7 separate regions of the Homo sapiens genome follow, and regions 1, 3, 4, 5, 6 and 7 are each linked to region 2. Evidence: promoter capture Hi-C in 16 types of primary human blood cells and fetal thymus (Javierre and others, 2016). All regions are on one chromosome and are shown on one strand. Each heading gives the region's core, a stretch centred on a gene start or on the middle of the fragment in contact. The rest is flanking DNA. Distances are from core to core; before and after follow the strand shown.

Evidence for each region. Contacts are between HindIII fragments. The CHiCAGO score rates a contact against its expected background, and 5 or more counts as called.
Region 1: a fragment that was not itself captured here is called in contact with the fragment with the promoter of CXCL8 in region 2 in 6 of 17 cell types (neutrophils, M1 macrophages, M0 macrophages and 3 more); the score reaches 14.5 in neutrophils.
Region 3: a fragment that was not itself captured here is called in contact with the fragment with the promoter of CXCL8 in region 2 in 7 of 17 cell types (megakaryocytes, neutrophils, monocytes and 4 more); the score reaches 19.9 in megakaryocytes.
Region 4: a fragment that was not itself captured here is called in contact with the fragment with the promoter of CXCL8 in region 2 in 3 of 17 cell types (monocytes, megakaryocytes and neutrophils); the score reaches 7.7 in monocytes.
Region 5: a contact is called between a fragment that was not itself captured here and the fragment with the promoter of CXCL8 in region 2, in 6 of 17 cell types (neutrophils, monocytes, M2 macrophages and 3 more). The highest score is 10.1, in neutrophils.
Region 6: a fragment that was not itself captured here is called in contact with the fragment with the promoter of CXCL8 in region 2 in 7 of 17 cell types (megakaryocytes, M1 macrophages, monocytes and 4 more); the score reaches 23.9 in megakaryocytes.
Region 7: a fragment that was not itself captured here is called in contact with the fragment with the promoter of CXCL8 in region 2 in 3 of 17 cell types (megakaryocytes, neutrophils and M0 macrophages); the score reaches 12.0 in megakaryocytes.

What each region holds. Positions count from the first base shown.
Region 1 is chr4:74,014,806-74,017,505 of GRCh38, reverse strand. No RefSeq gene overlaps it. Among named protein-coding and RNA genes, the nearest start is that of CXCL5, 17 kb to the right of the region's middle. The HindIII fragment of the contact is 4,022 bases long and covers 1-2,700 here.
Region 2 is chr4:73,739,210-73,742,342 of GRCh38, reverse strand. It overlaps CXCL8 (C-X-C motif chemokine ligand 8), which reads right to left and starts at 1,774. Exons shown (of 4, transcript NM_000584.4): 1 at 1,621-1,774; 2 at 666-801; 3 at 311-394. The coding sequence starts at 1,684. RefSeq lists a silencer at 3,017-3,133. The HindIII fragment of the contact is 2,023 bases long and covers 1,746-3,133 here.
Region 3 is chr4:74,050,950-74,053,915 of GRCh38, reverse strand. No RefSeq gene overlaps it. Among named protein-coding and RNA genes, the nearest start is that of CXCL3, 14 kb to the right of the region's middle. The HindIII fragment of the contact is 884 bases long and covers 919-1,802 here.
Region 4 is chr4:74,163,646-74,166,588 of GRCh38, reverse strand. All of the region lies in intron 1 of MTHFD2L (methylenetetrahydrofolate dehydrogenase (NADP+ dependent) 2 like), which reads right to left. Among named protein-coding and RNA genes, the nearest start is that of MTHFD2L, 7.0 kb to the right of the region's middle. RefSeq lists an enhancer at 1,674-1,803. The HindIII fragment of the contact is 3,104 bases long and covers 85-2,943 here.
Region 5 is chr4:74,070,787-74,073,871 of GRCh38, reverse strand. No RefSeq gene overlaps it. Among named protein-coding and RNA genes, the nearest start is that of CXCL2, 27 kb to the left of the region's middle. The HindIII fragment of the contact is 2,937 bases long and covers 1-2,848 here.
Region 6 is chr4:74,032,719-74,035,579 of GRCh38, reverse strand. No RefSeq gene overlaps it. Among named protein-coding and RNA genes, the nearest start is that of CXCL3, 4.5 kb to the left of the region's middle. The HindIII fragment of the contact is 810 bases long and covers 1,170-1,979 here.
Region 7 is chr4:73,996,557-73,999,686 of GRCh38, reverse strand. It overlaps CXCL5 (C-X-C motif chemokine ligand 5), which reads left to right and starts at 1,010. Exons shown (of 4, transcript NM_002994.5): 1 at 1,010-1,214; 2 at 1,349-1,481; 3 at 1,592-1,675; 4 at 2,032-3,130. The coding sequence starts at 1,106. The coding sequence ends at 2,050. It overlaps LOC124900715 (a long non-coding RNA gene), which reads right to left and starts at 1,459. Exons shown (of 2, transcript XR_007058140.1): 1 at 325-1,459. The HindIII fragment of the contact is 1,301 bases long and covers 945-2,245 here.

The DNA.
Region 1 (2,700 bases), core at 123-2,622, 280 kb before region 2:
TTTTACTCTTTTGTTAAAAATCCCCCAAATGGCATTTTATGTCACTTAAAGAAAACCGAAAGTTCTCATCACACCCTGTAAGGCACAACCCTCCAATATTACAGTCCCTGACTACTTGTTAATACCGCTCAGCCACATTGCTACTTAAATATACCAAGCAAACTCCTGCCTTGGAATATTTGAACCTGTTTTTCTCTATGCCTGGAATATTTTTTTTCCAGAGCTGCATAATTTTTCCTTTACTTCTTTAAGGGTTTTGCTCAAATATCATTGTGTTAGAGTCTTTCTCAGATCACTCTATATAAAATACATATGTAAACCTATATACATCCACACACACAATCTTTTTTTTCTTATTTGTCAATTGTCAGCTCTAATAAAATAATTACTCATCAAGAGAAAATCTTTGGCTTATAGCTATATCTTCAGTGTCTTTAGCATTGCTGGGTATTAGTAGAAACTCAAAAAAAGTTTTGAGGAATGATTGAATGGTATACAGAGAAAGGAGATGGTGGACGAGCTTGGCACAGAGAACCAGATGGGTGGCAGGATGCTGGAAAGTGCACAGTGGCTTCTCTGACATGTCTGCTTGTCATTGGAAAAAGATCAAATTCCCATCCCTCTTCTTGGTAGGTGAAGCTGTGGACATGCAAAGCCAACCTTAGGAGAAGCAATGAAGAATAGCAGGCAGTGGTTACCTGTATGGGCTCTGCTGTCAGATGGCCTGGTTTTGAATTCCAGCTCCATCAATTTCCTGCGTGACTTCAGCCAAGTCACTCAACCTCTCTTAAACTCTATAATCTTATCCAGAAAAATGGGCAAAAATAGCTGTTGGGAGGATTAGGTAAATATAATTCATAAAACACACTTGGAACAAAGTAGTTGTCATGAAATATTAGTTGTTATTATATATGATAAGGTGCAGTGGGCTAGTGTGGAATTATGAGAGAAAAAGAAAAAAAGAGATTTAGAAAACTCAAGACATTGAGCTTATTCTGCCACAAATGTTTAGATAAGGAAGAGCTTTCTTGTCTGTTAAAATACTTATTTAGAGTAAAGGGCAAGTACAATACCAACAACTATAATCTTTCTAGTGTTGACCTAGCTAGACCTTTATATTTCATGAACAGAGGTAAGATTAATCAGATGAAATGCCAAATGAAAAGAGGAAGACAGTTGAGTAAAACAAAAAGTGTGATTTAGCAGAGGATTTAGTGCGTCAAGTTATACCACATCCTGTTAGTCTTTTATGCCATTATCCAGTGTTGTGTGTCCCAGCAGCATAACAAAGGTTAAGAACAAGTTTATTCAACATCAGCAATGATTGCCAGAGGGAAGCAACTCACTTTAGTCAACATGGCTATCAAATGACAAAGAAAGGCACAAGTGAGAAATCTGTTTACAACCCTGGCATTTGGAGACACAACAGATGAATTATAGCATTTTGTAGATATTGAATTATATTTTTACATTCACTCACAATACTTGGAGTGAAGAGATCAAAAATTCTGTTAGAACAAATTGTAATGCATTTTCTCTCTTGTTTCTATTTTTCCCCACTTCTCCAATATACTTACATACTTTTAATAGGTCGGTAAATCTCCTAAATATTAGCTCACATCCAATCATACTGTTTAGAGAGCTTCTATGATTCATAAACATGCCTGAATGGATTTGGAGCGAATTCACAATTTCAGTATTTACCAAAATGTTAAATACTATGATTTGTATCACAGGTATCAACAGAGCTAAAGTAGCCAGATTAGTAAAACTTCTCTGAGAAATGGCTGATCTCAGTCATGGAAATGCATAATTGGGCATTAATATTGTTTTTACTGGAGATCTCATATTTGGCACTCTAACACCTCATACTGCAAATCAACAGGCAGCTCATTCTTACCTCTGTCATTAAGTATCAGGGGTTTTCCGTAAAACTCAATGTTAGATGCATTGACCAGTAACAAATGAATCTTTAAGTCAGACACTGAAGCAGATCAGTATCATGGTTAAATTTGAAGCAAACATTTCACTGTAAAATTCAAGGTTTACATCATATCTGATATGGGACTCTAGGGAAAGATTTTGCTCAGAAAGAGAAAAGAAGGGTGGAGTGAACACCTTGGAAAGGCTCCCTCTAAGTATGTACATCCACAGAGAAAAAGGCCTAACCTCACTTCCTGTTATGGATGTCAACTGTGGTGTAAACCAAAGAACTATCAAGCAATCAGCTAGGGCTCTAGTAGGATGAAGTCCCGTCCCAGACTTGCAGCTGAGAGGATTCACTCCCCGGATAGGCCTTTTGGTGATAAAAAGAGGAGAAAGAATGAAATGAATGAGGTTTCTTTGAGAATAAATGAGGAGGACAAGCCTCTGGGGCTGTTCAATCCTAAACACAAGGGAGTGTTGACCTAGACACTGAGGCAAGGAATGGTGATGAAAGGGCAGGATGGAGGCAAGGACGAAACACACTACCGCAGCAGGTGATCTCCAGGTGGTGCATTCCTGGGTTCCGATGAATCAGACATAACTGGGGGAACTTGGTTTCAACCACCTGGAAACTAAGGCATTAGAAAACAATGAGAATATAAATTCATGTGTCATTTCTAGGAAATAACTGACTTTTTAACTTAATAACATGTCACATACCAAATGTCCACCTAGCTTCTTACAGTCTCTAAAATGTGCTAGGTTTAAGATTTT
Region 2 (3,133 bases), core at 525-3,024:
TATATTCTCAACTATAAATAGGGAGATCAAAGAAATTATCATCTAAAATAGGACACTACTGGGAGTGACAAAGAACTTTACTAAGAGTATAGGACACAAGCTTAAACCCAGAATTTCCTGGGCAAACTATGTATGGTCTTTCTGGTCATGAGTACAACAAACTCACTATTGATGCTATTCCTTTTTTTTTTAACCAAAAAGGCAGATACCTAATGACGATTTTTAGCAACAGAAAGAAATTTATAGGCTGACTTTGGATTATATGTCTCAGGATAAATGAAAAATTTAAATTAAAAAATATATAACTTACCTCTTCAAAAACTTCTCCACAACCCTCTGCACCCAGTTTTCCTTGGGGTCCAGACAGAGCTCTCTTCCATCAGAAAGCTTTACACTGAAATAAGAAAGAAATGGTTCAGATTAATATTTAGTTTTTGCATTCAAATCATGATTCCTTAAGTCAGGCATAAAGTCTAAGTCCAAAATAACATTTATAGTAGTTGTGGAAGCTACCATATTTAAATGTCATGTAGACAAATATTTTTATTTTGTTTTGTTTCATTTACTACTGTAATCCTAACACCTGGAACTTTCCTAAATATTTCCACCTTCCTTAATTTTAAGTTTGCTAAAACAAAATATCTAATCTTTTTTAAAGTACTTACATAATTTCTGTGTTGGCGCAGTGTGGTCCACTCTCAATCACTCTCAGTTCTTTGATAAATTTGGGGTGGAAAGGTTTGGAGTATGTCTTTATGCACTGACATCTAAGTTCTTTAGCACTCCTTGGCAAAACTGCACCTGTTGGGGGAAAAAGTGATTAAGGATTGATTTTATCAACAGGCACAGCTCTGCCAGCTACTTCCTTTCTAATTCCAATATGATTATTTGGAGACTATGGAAGGCATCATGTTTCTAGTGAACTCATTCCTGAATATTCTCCTAGCCCTTGACCTCAGTTAGTTCTTTGTTTTAAAAAACAGTCATAACTGACAACATTGAACGACTTCCTATATAAAGAGTTAGAGTTCTTTTTGTACAATATCAACATCTTCATGGTATTTTTATCTGGTCAATATTGCATAATCCTCTGTGATACCACAGTGTTATTTATAGTAGGCAAGCTAAGACTCTCCAGCATAGAAATTGCCTTCAGAAAGAATTAACAGAAATATATAAATAAGTTATACATGCCTGGTCTATAATCAGGGTATCTTTAAACCAGACAGGAATTAATGACAAATCTGAGGCTTGTCAATGAAATACTACAAGGAGTGGAATTGTCTGAGTTACCTTGCTCAACTCAATATTAATACATAATATAGGTAACCGTGGTTCTCAATAGGACATACTATAAATTACTTATTTACGTTAAATATATGCATGCTACATGGTATAAATTATAAAAGCAGAATATCTATATTGATCAAACTTTATACTTTCCTAAGTGTTATATATAGTTTTTTCTAAATCTTCAATTTAACATTAATTGACTGCTAAGATTATATTCTGTTTCTGAATAAAAAGGATGTTTGTTACCAAAGCATCAAGAATAGCTTTGCTATCTAAGGATCACATTTAGACATAGGAAAACGCTGTAGGTCAGAAAGATGTGCTTACCTTCACACAGAGCTGCAGAAATCAGGAAGGCTGCCAAGAGAGCCACGGCCAGCTTGGAAGTCATGTTTACACACAGTGAGATGGTTCCTTCCGGTGGTTTCTTCCTGGCTCTTGTCCTAGAAGCTTGTGTGCTCTGCTGTCTCTGAAAGTTTGTGCCTTATGGAGTGCTCCGGTGGCTTTTTATATCATCACCCTACTAGAGAACTTATGCACCCTCATCTTTTCATTATGTCAGAGGAAATTCCACGATTTGCAACTGATGGCCCATCCCCTCAGGGCAAACCTGAGTCATCACACTTCCTATTTGTTCCTTATCAAATACGGAGTATGACGAAAGTTTTCTTTGATCTTTAAAATAATTTAATTTTAATATACATTTAAAATACTGAAGCTCCACAATTTGGTGAATTATCAATTGTATGCTTTTTTATTTCTAGATAACTTTATCATAGTACCATGTGACAGATATAGTACTAGAGTGGCAGGTGTTAGAACAAGATCATGGATGATTTTCTTTTAATGGCATAATTATTTTTTTTCAGTTAATTACAGATGCTATCATGATGGTGAAGATAAGCCAGCCAATCATTTTATTGGGGAGGTAATTTAAAATAAATCTTTTTCTAAGCATTTTAGAGAGTTTCTAGGAACTGTTACTGCTCTTAGGGGGCATACTACAACTTTTCAAAAGATTTAGTTTTCTAATGCATGTTAACAGAGTGAAGGGGCACATGTGCTTCACATAGAAATCAGTTCCACAAACATTTATGGAGTAACTTTCTGAGTAATGTGGGGGATCTAGAAATAGATAAGACTAGGTACTTGTCCTTAAAGAGTTTGGTCTATCAGAAGAAGAAAGCAATGTAAGGACTGACTATATAGCAGAATAGACAAGTGGTACTAAGACATTAATTCCAGTGGAGGCATAAGAGCAGAATCTTCCAAAGGCAGTTGGAGCAAGGCATTGAGGAATAGGAGGGCTTCAATAGAGGAAGATGAAAGAGAACAGCACATTCCAGATAGGAACAGTATTCAAGGCCACTCAAGTTGTAAAGTTAAGGTATGTTTATGCTCCAGAAAGTGGTGCACTGGAGCTGCTTGGTTGGGGTGGGAGGGAGGTGTTATCTAATGGAAAGTTGTATGCTTAGTGGAAAGAGCATCTGGGTTCCAACTCTGGTTCAGCCACTGTTGCTTCATGCTCTTTATCCAAGGACACCAAGTCTGACCTCTGAGGACCCATGATCACTAGCAAAAGGGATGGAGTGAGAAATTTCAACAAATCATAAAAAGGTGGCTTTATGTCCTAGTGTCCTGAAGAAAAGAATCCAAGACCTTTCTTGAAAGGTCTTGGATTCTGTAGATAAAGAGCACCAAGGAAGGGTTCTTATGATAGTAAAAGTCTGTTCGCTTCTGGGCAAGTACATAATTTATAAATAATTCACCTTGGTGTAACAGTTCTTCATTTTCAGAAAGTACGACAGAGCAGTGAATTTGCCCACACTGTGAACACACT
Region 3 (2,966 bases), core at 111-2,610, 310 kb before region 2:
TCTAAGTTCTATTCTGTTTCAAAAATCTCATTTTATTCTGAGAATGCTGGATAAAAGATAACAGAAAGAAGGTGAAAATAAGCAAGCCATGCTTCAATATATAATATATGTTTTACCCCCAATCCTTGGCTAAACATTGTAGTGCACTTTCCCTTTATTTATTTGAAAATTTCTATTGAAACACATCTTTGTTGATTTTTCCAACCCCACTCTACTGTAAGACTAGACATGCTGATGATAATAAACAGATTTAATAATGGTTAATGATATTAGGAATCACACAGAGCCCAGCGCAAAATACTTGCTCAATAAATTTTTGTTAGTATGTTCAGGAACTTAATAGGGTCTTTTAGTGTCTTAGTGCTATTATGTCTTGCTTAAAACATCTTCTGAAAGTTTCTTCTGATGTTTGTTTTAGCCTTCAAACCCTAAAAATAATAAAGTTGTAGAATGTAAGTCTTGTGAACTCTGCTTTTTTACTTTAAAGTGTATATATTTACCCCTGGTAGAATAAAAAATAGATGATGGAAATGAATTAATGTATCCCATTAAAAAACCTGTGATATTTTTTGAAACAAGAAAGAAAGAAAGGAAAAAAAATTCTTGAGGTTAAATGTTTTACCCTGACATGTTTGTATATATTAGCATTTAGTTAACATCTACATGGTTACAATTCTAGCATTAGTATTGACCTTGTAAGTAAGTACAATGTAGAACTTAACCTTTACTAGACTACTAATTCTTTTTTTAATCAACAAAATTTCCATTCATTTCTTAACCCCTAAAATTTATACCTACAAAATTTTCATTAACAAAATTAATTTTGTTACTACAAAAGTATTAACATAAGAATAACAATTTCTATTTATTTGTTGTTATATATTATTAATTTGAACATAATTGCTGTGGATAAAAGCTTTACTTCTTCCCTTCTCGTTTTGTTTCACACTTTGGTATTTCACAATATGGCCAACAAAATTCACAAGTTATGATCTGTATCATTCTTTATATAGCATGATAATAGTTCAAATTTATTAATCACTTTTAATATGCCAAGCATATAAAGTGTTTTGCATGCAGGAATAAACAATTTTATGAGATAGTTATGACCCAGCTAAAAGCACATCCTCTCCAGTCAGAATAATGGGCTAACCTGGCTCCACCACTTGCAAGTTCCGCAACAGCTATTGGGTTGGATGCAGATGCTCAAAAATGCAGTACTTAATAATAGGACTACATTCTGAGAAATGCCTCATTAGGTGATTTTGTCATTGTTCGAACACCGTAGTATGCACTTACATAAATCTAGATGGTATAACCTATTGTACACCTAGTGTAGTATAGGGGACATTACAGATACAACTAATGATGTTTACAGCCAAAGTAATCACACAGACTATGGTACTCCATGCACCCAGAATCAAAGCCAAAGTACTTGACCCACCAAACACCATAAATACATCTTCAGAAAAAAGTTATCCCCTACTAAAGAAAATTCCAAAATAGGAAAATTTCCTTTTATACCACATACCCAGAAATCAATATAAGGATACAGGAAACATAAAAAAGCAAGAAAATATAACACCTCAAAAGGAAAACATTAATTCTCTAGCATATATCTTGATCAAAAAGAAATTTTCAAAGTTCCAAATAAGGAATTCAAAATATTGATTTTTTAAGGATACTCAGTGATATTTTCGAGAATTCTGAAAGACAATAGAAATAAATTTTTAAAAATCAGAATGCAAATGATAAATTTACTGAAAAGGTAGATATTTTTAATACAAACCAAATAAAAAGCTTAGAACTTAAGAATTCATTAAAGGAAATATAAAATACGTTTAAAAGTGTCAATAATAGGCTAGCTCAAGCAGAAGAAAAAATGTTAAAATTTGAAGACAGGCCTTTTGAAATAATTCAGTTAGATAAAAATAAAGAAAACATAATAAAGAAAGAGCAAAGGCTTTGTGATATTTGAGACAATATAAAATGAAAAAATAAACAAATTATCAGTATACCTGAGGGTGAAGAAACAAAGAAAAGATTAGAAAATCTATTCAATGCAAAAATAGATGAAAATTTCCAAATCTAGCAAGAGATTTAGACATTCAGATTCAGGTGGTTCAATGTGCCCAGACAGATAAAATGCAAACAGGTTTTCCCTATGGGTGTCTAAAGTCAAAGTTAAAAACAAATTCTAGAAACAGCAAGAGAAAAGTGTTCAGCTACCTATAAAGAAAACCCCATCAGACTAACAGTGGATTTCTCAACATAATACTTCCACATCAGAAGAGAATGGGAAGATATACTCAAAATGTTGGAGGAAAAAATCTTCCACCCAAGAATACTACATCTAGCAAAATTTTCCTTTATAAATGAAGGTGAGATAAAGTCATTCACAGAGAAACAAATGCTGAAGGATTTCATTACCACTAGACTAGCTCTGAAAGAAATACTCAAAGGAATTCTAAAGCTAGAAGTGAAAGGGTGACATTTACCATCATGAAAACACACTAAACTATAAAACTCACTGGTGAAGCAATCATACACAAGAGGAAGGGAAAGGATGCAAATGATAACACTACAGAAATCCACCAATCCACAAGAGAAAACTATAAGACAAAAAGAAAGGAACAAAGAATATATAAAACAAGCAAAAAATAGTTAACAATATGACAGGAACATAGCCTCATATATCAATAACAACCTTGAACATAAATGGATTAAATTCTGCTCTTAAAATATATAGAATGGCAGAATAAATTTAAAAAACATGATTCAGCTATATACTGCTTACGTGAAACTCACCTTGCCAGTAAAGCCACATACAGACTGAAAGTAAAGAGATAGAAAAGCATATTACACGCAAGTGAAAACCAAAATCAAGCAGAAGTAGCTATACTTATATAACAGAGACTTTAAGTGAAGAACAGTAAAAAAGACAGAGAAGATTATTATTATTATTT
Region 4 (2,943 bases), core at 387-2,886, 420 kb before region 2:
ATATTCAACAAACAGACCAAATGGGAGTAGGGACACCTTCAGATTTAAAGTTTTTAGTGAATTGTAATCAGTGAAACCAAAGCTTACAAACAGAAACCTTATCTCTTCAAAAGGAAGGGAAGAAGTAAACTAATTTAAAAAATCATAGCTCAAACAATGCACAAGTAATTTTAATTTCTGTCCTTACAAGAGAAGACACAGAGACACATAAAAAGGGAAGTGAAGACAGAGAGGGAAGACAACCATTTAACAACAGAGGCAAAGACTGGAGTTATGCAGCTGCAAACTCCTTAGGAACACCAAGGACTGCTGGCAATAACCAGAAGCTAGTCGACAGAGTGTGGGCCTACAGATACTTTGATTTCAGACTTCCAGCCTCCTTCCACTGTTTCCAGTGTGAAAACAGATTTCTGCTGTTTCAAGCTAGCTAGTTTGTGGAACTTTGTATACAGCAGAATTAGTAAATAAATACATCTATAATAGCAATTTTAAATAGTTCAATGTCTGAGAATAATCTTCTGATGGAACTCATATTTTTTGTTGAATAAAATTTCCTGGAATAAATTACCATTTTGTAAAACATTGGAATACAATTGAGAAAAACTTTAATTTTCCCCTATCTAAATATGGTAAACTATTTTTAAAATCATACACAAAAACAACTTATTTCTTTTATCTAAATATTTGTCAAAGAAAAGTACTTTGAAAAGATACACCAACATAGCACCTGTGAAAATATTTAGGCTAAAATATCTTCCCATTTCAATGTGCAAAATGTAGAATTAAGACTGTTCCATTTAGCAGTTTATGTGGTGTTTCAGCATCTATAGAGACAGTACCTTTAAAACTAAAATAACCATTGTCTAAAGCAAAGATTCTATTTGCAACTGTTAAGAAAATTGCAGAAAATTTAATTTTAAAATTAAGCACAAGGGCCGGGCCTAGTGGCTCACGCCTGTAATTCCAGCACTTTGAGGGGCCGAGGCGGGTGGATCACGAGGTCAGGAGTTCAAGACCAGCCTGACCAATATGGTGAAACCCCGTCTCTACTAAAAATAGAAAAATTAGCTGGGCGTGGTGGCATGCACCTGTAGTCCCAGCTACTCGGGAGGTTGAGGCAGGAGAATCACTTGAACCCAGGAGGCGGAGGTTGCAGTGAGCCAAGATCACACCATTGCACTCAGCCTGGGTGACAGAGAAAGACTCTGTCTCAAAAAAAATAAACAAAGCATAAGATCTTATTAACTTTTTTCAGAAAATTATCAGGATCAAGGTGTTAAAAGATACAGCTAAGAAACTGATTCAAGCATGTGAATATGCACCAGGAATAATTGTTCATGCTGAATGTTCATGTAATATAAATTTTTATTTTAACACATAAGGATATAAATTATCTTTTAAAATGTTAATTTTGAAAATGGTCTGAAACTATTCTATAAGTTCACTAATATATTTGTAAGCCAATAGATATTCCAAATATATAATTTTCATTACATTCGTGCCCCTTTTTACTCTAAAAAATGTGCTAGTTTGGCCAAAAAAATTACATAGTGACCTTGCCATTAATGCATATCAAAAATAAAATCCATTTGACCCCTTAGATATTGTTTACATGATGTGCCCTGTCATTACTTGCTCAGGTGGTTTCCCACAAAGGCAGAAATGACCTTCCCCTAAAGGCAAGAAAAGGTGCCCTCCCTTCCAAAAGCCCAGCCTACTGCTGGGCTAGCCACGAAATGTGGCTTCATCAGGAGGCAAAAATTAAAGAAGGGAGGTGGTGGCTAGTGAGTAGCAGGGCAGCACTATGTAGTACAAACTACTCACCTGAAATTAGAAGTCCTGAGCATCAGAGCTCTGGGTTACCATTAGTAGCAATAATAAAGTTAGGCAAGTCACTTAGCTTCTCTCAACGGCATGCAATTTCTTCATCTATATAATGGGAATACTCTCTTGTTGACCTTACATTACATAAGAGGATTTGGCTAAAAGTTCATGGGCTGGTTTGCAAAAGTGGCTCTTTCTCTTAGTTTCTGCTAAATTACAGATGGAGACATATTTCGATAACCAGAAACATTATGAGAGCAGAAAGTCTTCAGCACTTAGTGCTGTTTCCATGGGCTTGTTTACTTGTACTTCCAGAAAATAAACTAACCACCTTATCTACGCTTATTAGAATCAAATGATTTATTTAATAAACTAGAGCAAAATAACAAAGGGGGAGGATTATTTCTATGTATCAAAATACTCTTCCACAAAAAAGTAGCTTACCAACAAATAAAACCTAGTCAAGATCAAGAGTTTATTTAATTCGTATACTTGGCAAATCCATATCTTAGTTTCAATCTCATCTTTATTCACGACTTCAACTAGAGCTGCAATGAACCATTTTATCTCTATAATGTTGAAAAAACCTGGCCAGGCATGGTGGCTCACGCCTGTAATCCCAGCACTTTGGGAGGCTGAGGCGGGCGGATCACGAAGTCAGGAGATCAAGACGCATCCTGGCTAACACGGTGAAACCCCGTCCCTACTAAAAATACAAAAAATTAGCCGGGCGTGGTGGCGGGCGCCTGTAGTCCCAGCTACTTGGGAGACTGAGGCAGGAGAATGGCATGAACCCGGGAGGCAGAGTTTGCAGTGAGCCAAGATCGTGCTATTGCACTCCAGCCTGGGTGACAGAGCAAGACTCTGCCTCAAACAAAAAACAAAACAAACAAACAAAAAAAGACGAAAAATCCTAATAGAATGATTAACAATTCCAAGCTCTACCCAGGCCCTAACATACAGTTTAATTGCTTTATATCTTAGGGCATATCTTCGATGTCTTGAGTTTGTACAATAGAAATGAAACCCCCCAAAAACAGGGCAAAATTCCATAGGGAATAAAACCAATCACCAGTATAGGGAGTCTTTTGAAGTGTGTTATTAAAATAAATGAATACC
Region 5 (3,085 bases), core at 131-2,630, 330 kb before region 2:
ACACCCACTCTCTTGTTATGCAGGCTAAATTTTAGAACTAACTAATACACCAGAAGCCTCTGTGTATGAACCTCTTGTTATAGGCTGAACTGTGCATTTCCTAAATTCATATGTTGAATCCCTAATCCCTAGTACCTCAGAATAAGACTGTATGTGGAAATGAAGTCTTTACAGAGGTAACCAGGTTAAGTGGAGTTCATTAGCATGGTCCTGAATTCAATTTGACTGGTGTCTTCCTAAAAAGAAATTAGAGCACAGACAACACACAGACTGTGGGGTAACCATGTGAAGACAGTGAGAAGATAGCCATCTGCAAGCCAGGAAGGGAGGTCTTAGGAGAAACCAAACCTTCCAGGACCTTAACCTTGGATGTTCAGCCTTCAGAACTGTGAGAAAATATACTTCTGTTGTTTAAGCCACCCAGTATGTGGTATACTATTATGGCAGACATAACAAACAAATACATCTCTCAAATCATAGACCCATCCCTTTCCAAGAATTAATCACTATTTTGAATTGTGTTGTTTCTTGCTTTTCTTTGTAGTTTTACCATCTAGGTATGAATCCTTAAACAATTATGTATTTTGCCTGCTCTTAAACTTCAGATCAATGGAATAATGCTGAATGTATTGTTCTGTGACTTGATTCTATTATTTAACATTATGTTTTGCAACCCATGATTTCGATATGTTTAGCTGTTCATTTAATTTTAGTAATTCCACTGTAGGAATATGAAGTAAGTAAATGCAAAATTCATTTATCCAATCCTTTGTTGGAGCGCACTTGAGTTCTTTTCAGATTTTGACTATTGCTGACATTCTTTATGTGTTTCCTGGTTCATGTTATGTAAGAGTTTCTCTAGGAATTACTTGCTGTGTTTAGGCTTTGCATGTCATAAATCTTACCAGTTAATGCCATGTGGTATCACAAAGAAGCTGTACCAATTGACACTACTTCCTGCATAAAATTATCTGTTGTTGCACATACTGGTCACTACCTAGTATTGTCAATCTGATGAGTATGTAATGGTACCATGCTATTCTTTTAATTTTCATCTCTTTATTATTAATTAGATTGAATATTTTTATATGCTTAGGAGCATTTGTGTTCTCTATTTTGTAAAATTTGTATTCTTTTTTTTACTTTTCTTATTTGTATATTATCTTGTTCCCATTGGCACACAGGTGTTCTTTATATATTCTGGATGTTAGAACCTTGTCAATTTTATAAGTAAAAAACTAGTTTTCCAATTTACAACTCATATAGTCTTTCTTTTTATAGTGTCTCCAGTGAACGTAAGTTTGTATTATTATTCTACTTGAATTTAGCAATATGCTCTTTTCTGATTAGCAACTTTGGTGTCTTCTTTCAAAAAGAAAAAAAAACTTCCCTTTACAGTTCATAAAAATATTCTTCTATATTATCTTCTAAAGTTTTCATAATTTTTTCTTTGTGTTTAAGACATGACTGTTTATGGAATCTATTTTTGTATTATGTGATGGAATTATCCAATTTTATTTTATTTTTCCACATGACTCATTAATTGTTACAGCCCTATTTAATAAAACATCATTTCCCTACTGATCGACAATGCTATTTCTGCCATAAATTGAGTTTTGCAACTGAAGTCCTGCAAGTGAAGGAATGTTTCTAATGTCTCTTTTCTGTCCCATTGATCAATTTGTCTATACATATACACAGTCTTCATTATTAATATTTTATAATAATTTTTAATATCTGGGATGGAAAATTCTTTCATGTTGTTCAAGAGTAGCCTGTCTTTTCTTAGACTTCTGCTCTTTCATATAAATCTAAGAAATAGCTTGCAAATTTGCACTGAATTAAATTATAATTTTGAATGGAATTTCTTTGAAGTTATAAATTAATTTTTAAATTATTGACATCTTTATCCTGCTGAGTTTTCCATTTTAAGAATACAAACTAACTGCCAATTTGTTGAGGCCTTATTTAATGTCTTTAAAGTTTCATGATTTTCTCCATAAAGTCATTCCATATTTTTTATTATAAAAAAAGATTTCTTGCCACTCTATATTGTTTGATGTTATTGTAAAGGGTATCTTTATAAAATATAACTTTCCATCTATTAGTGTTTAAACATAAAATTTTGTAGTAGTTTTGTAACCAACATTTAACTAGAGTAGTCATATCACCTGAGGATAATGACAGTTTAGTTTCCTTTTTTGGAAAACTTATGCCTTTTATTTATCTCTTTAGCTTTGCTGAGATGTCTGCAATAATAATATACACTCTTTTCTTGTTTTGGCCTTTAAAGGGATTACTTTCAAGATTTCATCATGTATGATATTTTGTGGCTATCCTTGTATTGGTTATTTGCTAAGGATTTATCATTGTATTATTATTAATTTTTATAATTGAATCTTGTTGTTTTCTTAAACCCTGGAATGTTCACCCCTGGCTCAGAGTGTGCTAAGATGATACAATCCTGGAGATGCTGGTGAAATTTTTTTTTTTAAAGATTTGGAAAAAAACAAAGGTTCCTATGGTTCAAAGTCAGCTTCATTAAAAATCTATATCCAAGCTATACGTATGTTTTAACAGCCTTTATGCTTATTCTTTTCTTACATCTTGTTCTTTTGAGAACAATCATTTTTGTTTCCTCTCAATCATCAGAATCGTTTCTCCAGTCTTTCTTCTTTCCACTGCTGATGCCCACAAGAGAGGATCTAAGGTAATTTCCGACAGCCTGGGACTTCTTGGGAAAAACCGAGGAGGAGCCACAGACCCAGTTTTGGGAAAACCCTCTGTTTTATCCTCATGGAACTCTAGGAATTGTAAGCAGATAGGTTTCTCTCAAAAATCTAAAGCTTTGCTCTATTTTACATTGTTACCCGACCTTTTGACTTTTAGGGGTGTCAGAGATTACTTTGCATTTTTGGAAAACTTTTAGCCTTGGTGTGTAACAGCTAGGATGTGCTTTTAGGGATGGCTAATGGCAGTTGCTTACAGTGAGTGGTTAATACTACAGGCCAATACTTCTTTCTTCTCACATTGAAATAAAAAAGCACGCTATTGGACATCTAAAAGGTATGGAATGGGGGATGGG
Region 6 (2,861 bases), core at 325-2,824, 290 kb before region 2:
ATTCTTCCAGAAAATGCATAACCTTTGTATAATCACAACAAGGACATCATAAAAATCTGAACTGATTTTTATGGTGGTAAAACTGATGGACGTTTTACAAAACTCCTCATAAGTACTCTTCAACCTGTCAAGGTCATGAAAAACAAGACAAAATCAATAAATTGTCACAGATTAAAGGAGACAAAAGTGATATGGGGACTAAATACAATGTGGTATGTTGAATTGGATCCTGGAATAGAAAAAAGGACATTATTGGAAAATTGATGAAATCTGAATAAAGACAAGAGTTTAGTTAACAGCAATGTACCAATGTTAATTTCTTAGTTTTGTCAAATATACTACAAGTATGTAAGATGTCAACATTACGGGACACTGAGCTAAAGGTCAGATATAGAAACTCTCTGTGCCCACACAAATTTTTTGTGAGTCTAAAATTATTCCAAATTTAAAAGTTTATTTTTCAAAAGATAGGACAAATATAATAGCAGATAGTAGACTTAGATACAACTATATTAAGAATTATAGTAAATTTAAGCAGAATAAACACTCCAATTAAAAGTCAAAGATTATCAGACTACATAAATATGACATGTTTATGCTTCTTAAAAGAGACACACTTTAAATTATATCTAGATAGGAGGAACAAATTCTAGTGTTTTATACCACTGTAGGATGCCTATAGTTAAAAGTAATAGTTTCAAACAGCTAGAAGGATATCAAATGTTCCCACACAAATAAATGATAAATATTTGAAATGACGGATATGCTAATTACCCTGATCTCTTCACTATACATTATATATAGAAACATTACTATGTACCCCATCAATATGCACAGTAATTATGTGTCAATTATAAAAATACAATAAAAGTAAAAACAAATTGGGCACCAGGTTGCTTGAAATTAAAAGAATTAATAGTGTTATATCACATACAAATGGGCTGACATGGATATATTACTATATTGAAACCTGACCTGGATATATTAATATATTTATTACTTAACTATTAATATGCTATTCATATAAATTATATTTATTAAAAATTGATATACTAATGAAGGCCTAATTAATATATTATGCCTTAAGGAAAGAAATAGTCTTGGAGATAAAAAAGACTGTTAAAAATAAAAAGGGGTTAACTAAACAAGAGACAAAACATTCCTAAGCTTTTATGAACTTAGAAACACATTATCAAATTATATAAACTATTTGTGAGGCTGAGGTGGGAGAATCAACTGAGCCCATGAGTCTGAAGCTGCAGTGAGCTATGATCATGCCACCGCACTGCAGCCTGGGTGACAGAGCAAGGCCTTGTCTCTAAAGAAAAAAAAAATTCACACACACACATAAAGCAAAATGAAGAGATCAAAAAAGAGCAATAGACAGATATATAATCATAGTTACAGATTCTAACAAACTCTTTCAACACTTAATATGTAAAGCAGCACAAATTTAGTAGCAGTATAGAAGTGTTAAGCAACATAAGCAACCAACTTGGTTTGACTGACATATATTGGCAATTTACCCAGCAATTGCATAAATCACATTTGTCTTTCCAAAGAGAACATAGATGAGTCATAAAAAATGTATCAATACATTTCAAAATGTTAAAACATTACAGAAGACCTTTTCTGATCATCAAAGTTTTTTAGGATGATTTGTAACTGTCTTAGTTGAACTATGTATTCATACACTGTGTGTGATATGTTTGCTGTGGTTTATAACTCATCTCAACTTCCTACATTGTGCTTCCATAATACCAGAGTCATCATGATGACCAATATAATCATCTAGTATGATAAAAATGTTTCCATAGAGATGTTTGCTTATTTCCTGTATTTTTTCTGACATATTCTTTTGTAATTTTGGCATTCCTATATTTCTTGGATTACATGATATGAGCATAATGTAATTTAATTACTCAATACCTTCCACAAAAGTTTAAACAACAATCTCAAGAAAAGGCAAATATAAAGCTTATACTAAAAGCTAATTTTTAAAAGTTTTGGAATGATGTTCACATCTATATATTAGATGGTGTTTGGTGTTATTTCCAATAAAGTTAAATAATTATAGTTTGTTGAAATCATCAGTATGTCTTTACTGCAGAATTAGAAGACTAGCAATGTTGCAGAAGGAAGTGTGCAAGTTAAGAATCAAAGAAGAATTTCATGTTTAAGTTTTGGCTTTATCCACTATCTTTTACAAAACTCACCACAATCCCTTTTGTGTTGTATGCATCTAGTAAATGTCTTTTGAATTTAATATCCACCATTCCTCATTTTCTACACATACATTGAACCTATAGGTTACTCTTGCCTTCCCACTCTCCCTGTGGTAGATAGTCAATAAAGGAATCTGTCCACAAGGGACATGGAAGCACCATGAGACACACGTAAAAGCTGCACAGCTATGGTAACATCCAAACTGACAGAGAAGCAGGATCCTACAGGCACATGGCCTCCCATGTGGAATCCTGATCGCCCCTCCTGCCTCACTTGCTCTCCTCTCCCTGCCCACAGGATGAACTCCATCTACCTGAGTCACTTGCTGCTTCTAGGACTTCCATGGACTTTCCAATCTTCATGCCTTTGATTACTTGGTTGTCTCCTACTGGAGCGTTTTCCATTCCTCAGTGTTGTCCCATCTACTTGGAAAACTCTCCATCCTTTAAAACTCACATAAGTAACGATTTCTTGTAGGAAAACCTCTGTAACACCTCTCAGAAACCCACTCATTAACCCATAAGAGTTGTATGAGATATTCATCCTTACTCCTAATACTTTGTGCATAGTTTGTCATGGTATTTACCAGGCCCTTCTAAAATCTTCTATTTGTACATTCATCTCCTGTATTGTGT
Region 7 (3,130 bases), core at 346-2,845, 260 kb before region 2:
CTACAAGAAGCTTTCACATGAGCCCTTCAAACTCATCAGCCTCCCACAGCATCTCCAAATGGTGTCAAATACATATCTGGGGCTGGGAACAGAGCTGGGGCAGGCCTGGGATCCCTGGCAAGCTTTAGCCTGCGCTCACCATACTACACCTCACCCCCAACAAGACCAAAACCTCTTCCAATTCAATAGCATAGCAACTGCCAATAGCAAGGTATCTTCCATGGCAATTTGCTGGGTGATTTTGGAAGATTTTTGTTTAACTACCTGGACACACGTATACTTGCTATATACTACAAGTACAGAATTCTCAGTAAGCGGACTTACCAAAGTAGGTGATCTGTAGGGGAGTTAACAAAATTCAGTGGTCCTTTCAGGCCACTGACTTCAAGTGGCAAGAGACAAGGGTCTCTTGTTATCATGTTATCTTGGCTTCCAAAGCTGGTTGAAGTCCAGAGATTCATAAAGTCATTCAAGAAACCTAGAATGACCTGCCTGCAAGGAAGACAGGAAGGACTTTCAGTTTATAGCAATTCAAACATGAATAACATTTCCTGATTAATAGTAATAATAATTAGAAAGGATTGACTTTCAGAAATTTTTCTCAAATCAAGGCTCCTGTTACTTTGGTTCCACCTTTTCTCTCTAGAAGGAGAGGAGGAGCATCTCCCAGAGGGCTGCGTGCCTCAGAAAAGCCGGCATCCCTAGCCCGCTCTGGCACAGGCCATGAGGCCCTGCTGAATCCTGCTGAATAGCTACTCCCTTCTAGCTGGAGCCACAGCTCCCTCCACCGCGGAGCAGGGTTACAACGTCCCTCTCGGTAGAGGTGCACGCAGCTCCTCCTGGCCACCCTCCCCACCAGTTCCCATTGTCTGGCCCCCCTCCCCCAACCTCTTCTTTCCACACTGCCCCATGAGTTCAGGGAATTTCCCCAGCATCCCAAAGCTTGAGTTTCCTGTCAGTGGGGAGAGATGAGTGTAGATAAAAGGAGTGCAGAAGGCACGAGGAAGCCACAGTGCTCCGGATCCTCCAATCTTCGCTCCTCCAATCTCCGCTCCTCCACCCAGTTCAGGAACCCGCGACCGCTCGCAGCGCTCTCTTGACCACTATGAGCCTCCTGTCCAGCCGCGCGGCCCGTGTCCCCGGTCCTTCGAGCTCCTTGTGCGCGCTGTTGGTGCTGCTGCTGCTGCTGACGCAGCCAGGGCCCATCGCCAGCGGTGAGAGCGCATGGCGCGCGGGACGCACTCGCACTCGGGCACAGAGGTGCATCCCAGCCTCTGCGGGGTCGCTGCGTTCCAGGGAACTCTCCCAGCAACCTGCCCTATAAAGGGTGTCTCTCTTTCTTCCCCAGCTGGTCCTGCCGCTGCTGTGTTGAGAGAGCTGCGTTGCGTTTGTTTACAGACCACGCAAGGAGTTCATCCCAAAATGATCAGTAATCTGCAAGTGTTCGCCATAGGCCCACAGTGCTCCAAGGTGGAAGTGGTGTAAGTTCTGTGCTGCTGTGTCCGCTGTGACCTTGGCAAGAGAGAAATCCCGCAGCCTGGGTCTTCAACCTTGGTATCTCATGAGTGTATCTTCTTTTTCTTTCCTTCAGAGCCTCCCTGAAGAACGGGAAGGAAATTTGTCTTGATCCAGAAGCCCCTTTTCTAAAGAAAGTCATCCAGAAAATTTTGGACGGGTACTTGTCACTTTGATCTTTGTGGTTTCTAAATCTGATCTAGGGAGACCATAGACTTCACAAGGTCTTTATTCTCTGTACGATTTAAGTAACACTTTTCATGTTTAGAATTAAAAGGTTGTTGAATTGGGAAAGTTTTTCTGGATTGTCCTGGGAAAATATACCAATCTTACATGTAATTACTTGAGCAATTACACACAGCTTGTCACTAAGTTATGTTTTTTGTTTACCCATTGCTTTTATTGATTTTTGTATTCTCCTTTTTTACCAAACATCATAAACGCTGAGTTTTGACAAGGGTGGAGTAGAAAGGAGTGTGAAAAATGGTTAAACTAATATAACATTTTTCTCAACAGTGGAAACAAGGAAAACTGATTAAGAGAAATGAGCACGCATGGAAAAGTTTCCCAGTCTTCAGCAGAGAAGTTTTCTGGAGGTCTCTGAACCCAGGGAAGACAAGAAGGAAAGATTTTGTTGTTGTTTGTTTATTTGTTTTTCCAGTAGTTAGCTTTCTTCCTGGATTCCTCACTTTGAAGAGTGTGAGGAAAACCTATGTTTGCCGCTTAAGCTTTCAGCTCAGCTAATGAAGTGTTTAGCATAGTACCTCTGCTATTTGCTGTTATTTTATCTGCTATGCTATTGAAGTTTTGGCAATTGACTATAGTGTGAGCCAGGAATCACTGGCTGTTAATCTTTCAAAGTGTCTTGAATTGTAGGTGACTATTATATTTCCAAGAAATATTCCTTAAGATATTAACTGAGAAGGCTGTGGATTTAATGTGGAAATGATGTTTCATAAGAATTCTGTTGATGGAAATACACTGTTATCTTCACTTTTATAAGAAATAGGAAATATTTTAATGTTTCTTGGGGAATATGTTAGAGAATTTCCTTACTCTTGATTGTGGGATACTATTTAATTATTTCACTTTAGAAAGCTGAGTGTTTCACACCTTATCTATGTAGAATATATTTCCTTATTCAGAATTTCTAAAAGTTTAAGTTCTATGAGGGCTAATATCTTATCTTCCTATAATTTTAGACATTCTTTATCTTTTTAGTATGGCAAACTGCCATCATTTACTTTTAAACTTTGATTTTATATGCTATTTATTAAGTATTTTATTAGGAGTACCATAATTCTGGTAGCTAAATATATATTTTAGATAGATGAAGAAGCTAGAAAACAGGCAAATTCCTGACTGCTAGTTTATATAGAAATGTATTCTTTTAGTTTTTAAAGTAAAGGCAAACTTAACAATGACTTGTACTCTGAAAGTTTTGGAAACGTATTCAAACAATTTGAATATAAATTTATCATTTAGTTATAAAAATATATAGCGACATCCTCGAGGCCCTAGCATTTCTCCTTGGATAGGGGACCAGAGAGAGCTTGGAATGTTAAAAACAAAACAAAACAAAAAAAAACAAGGAGAAGTTGTCCAAGGGATGTCA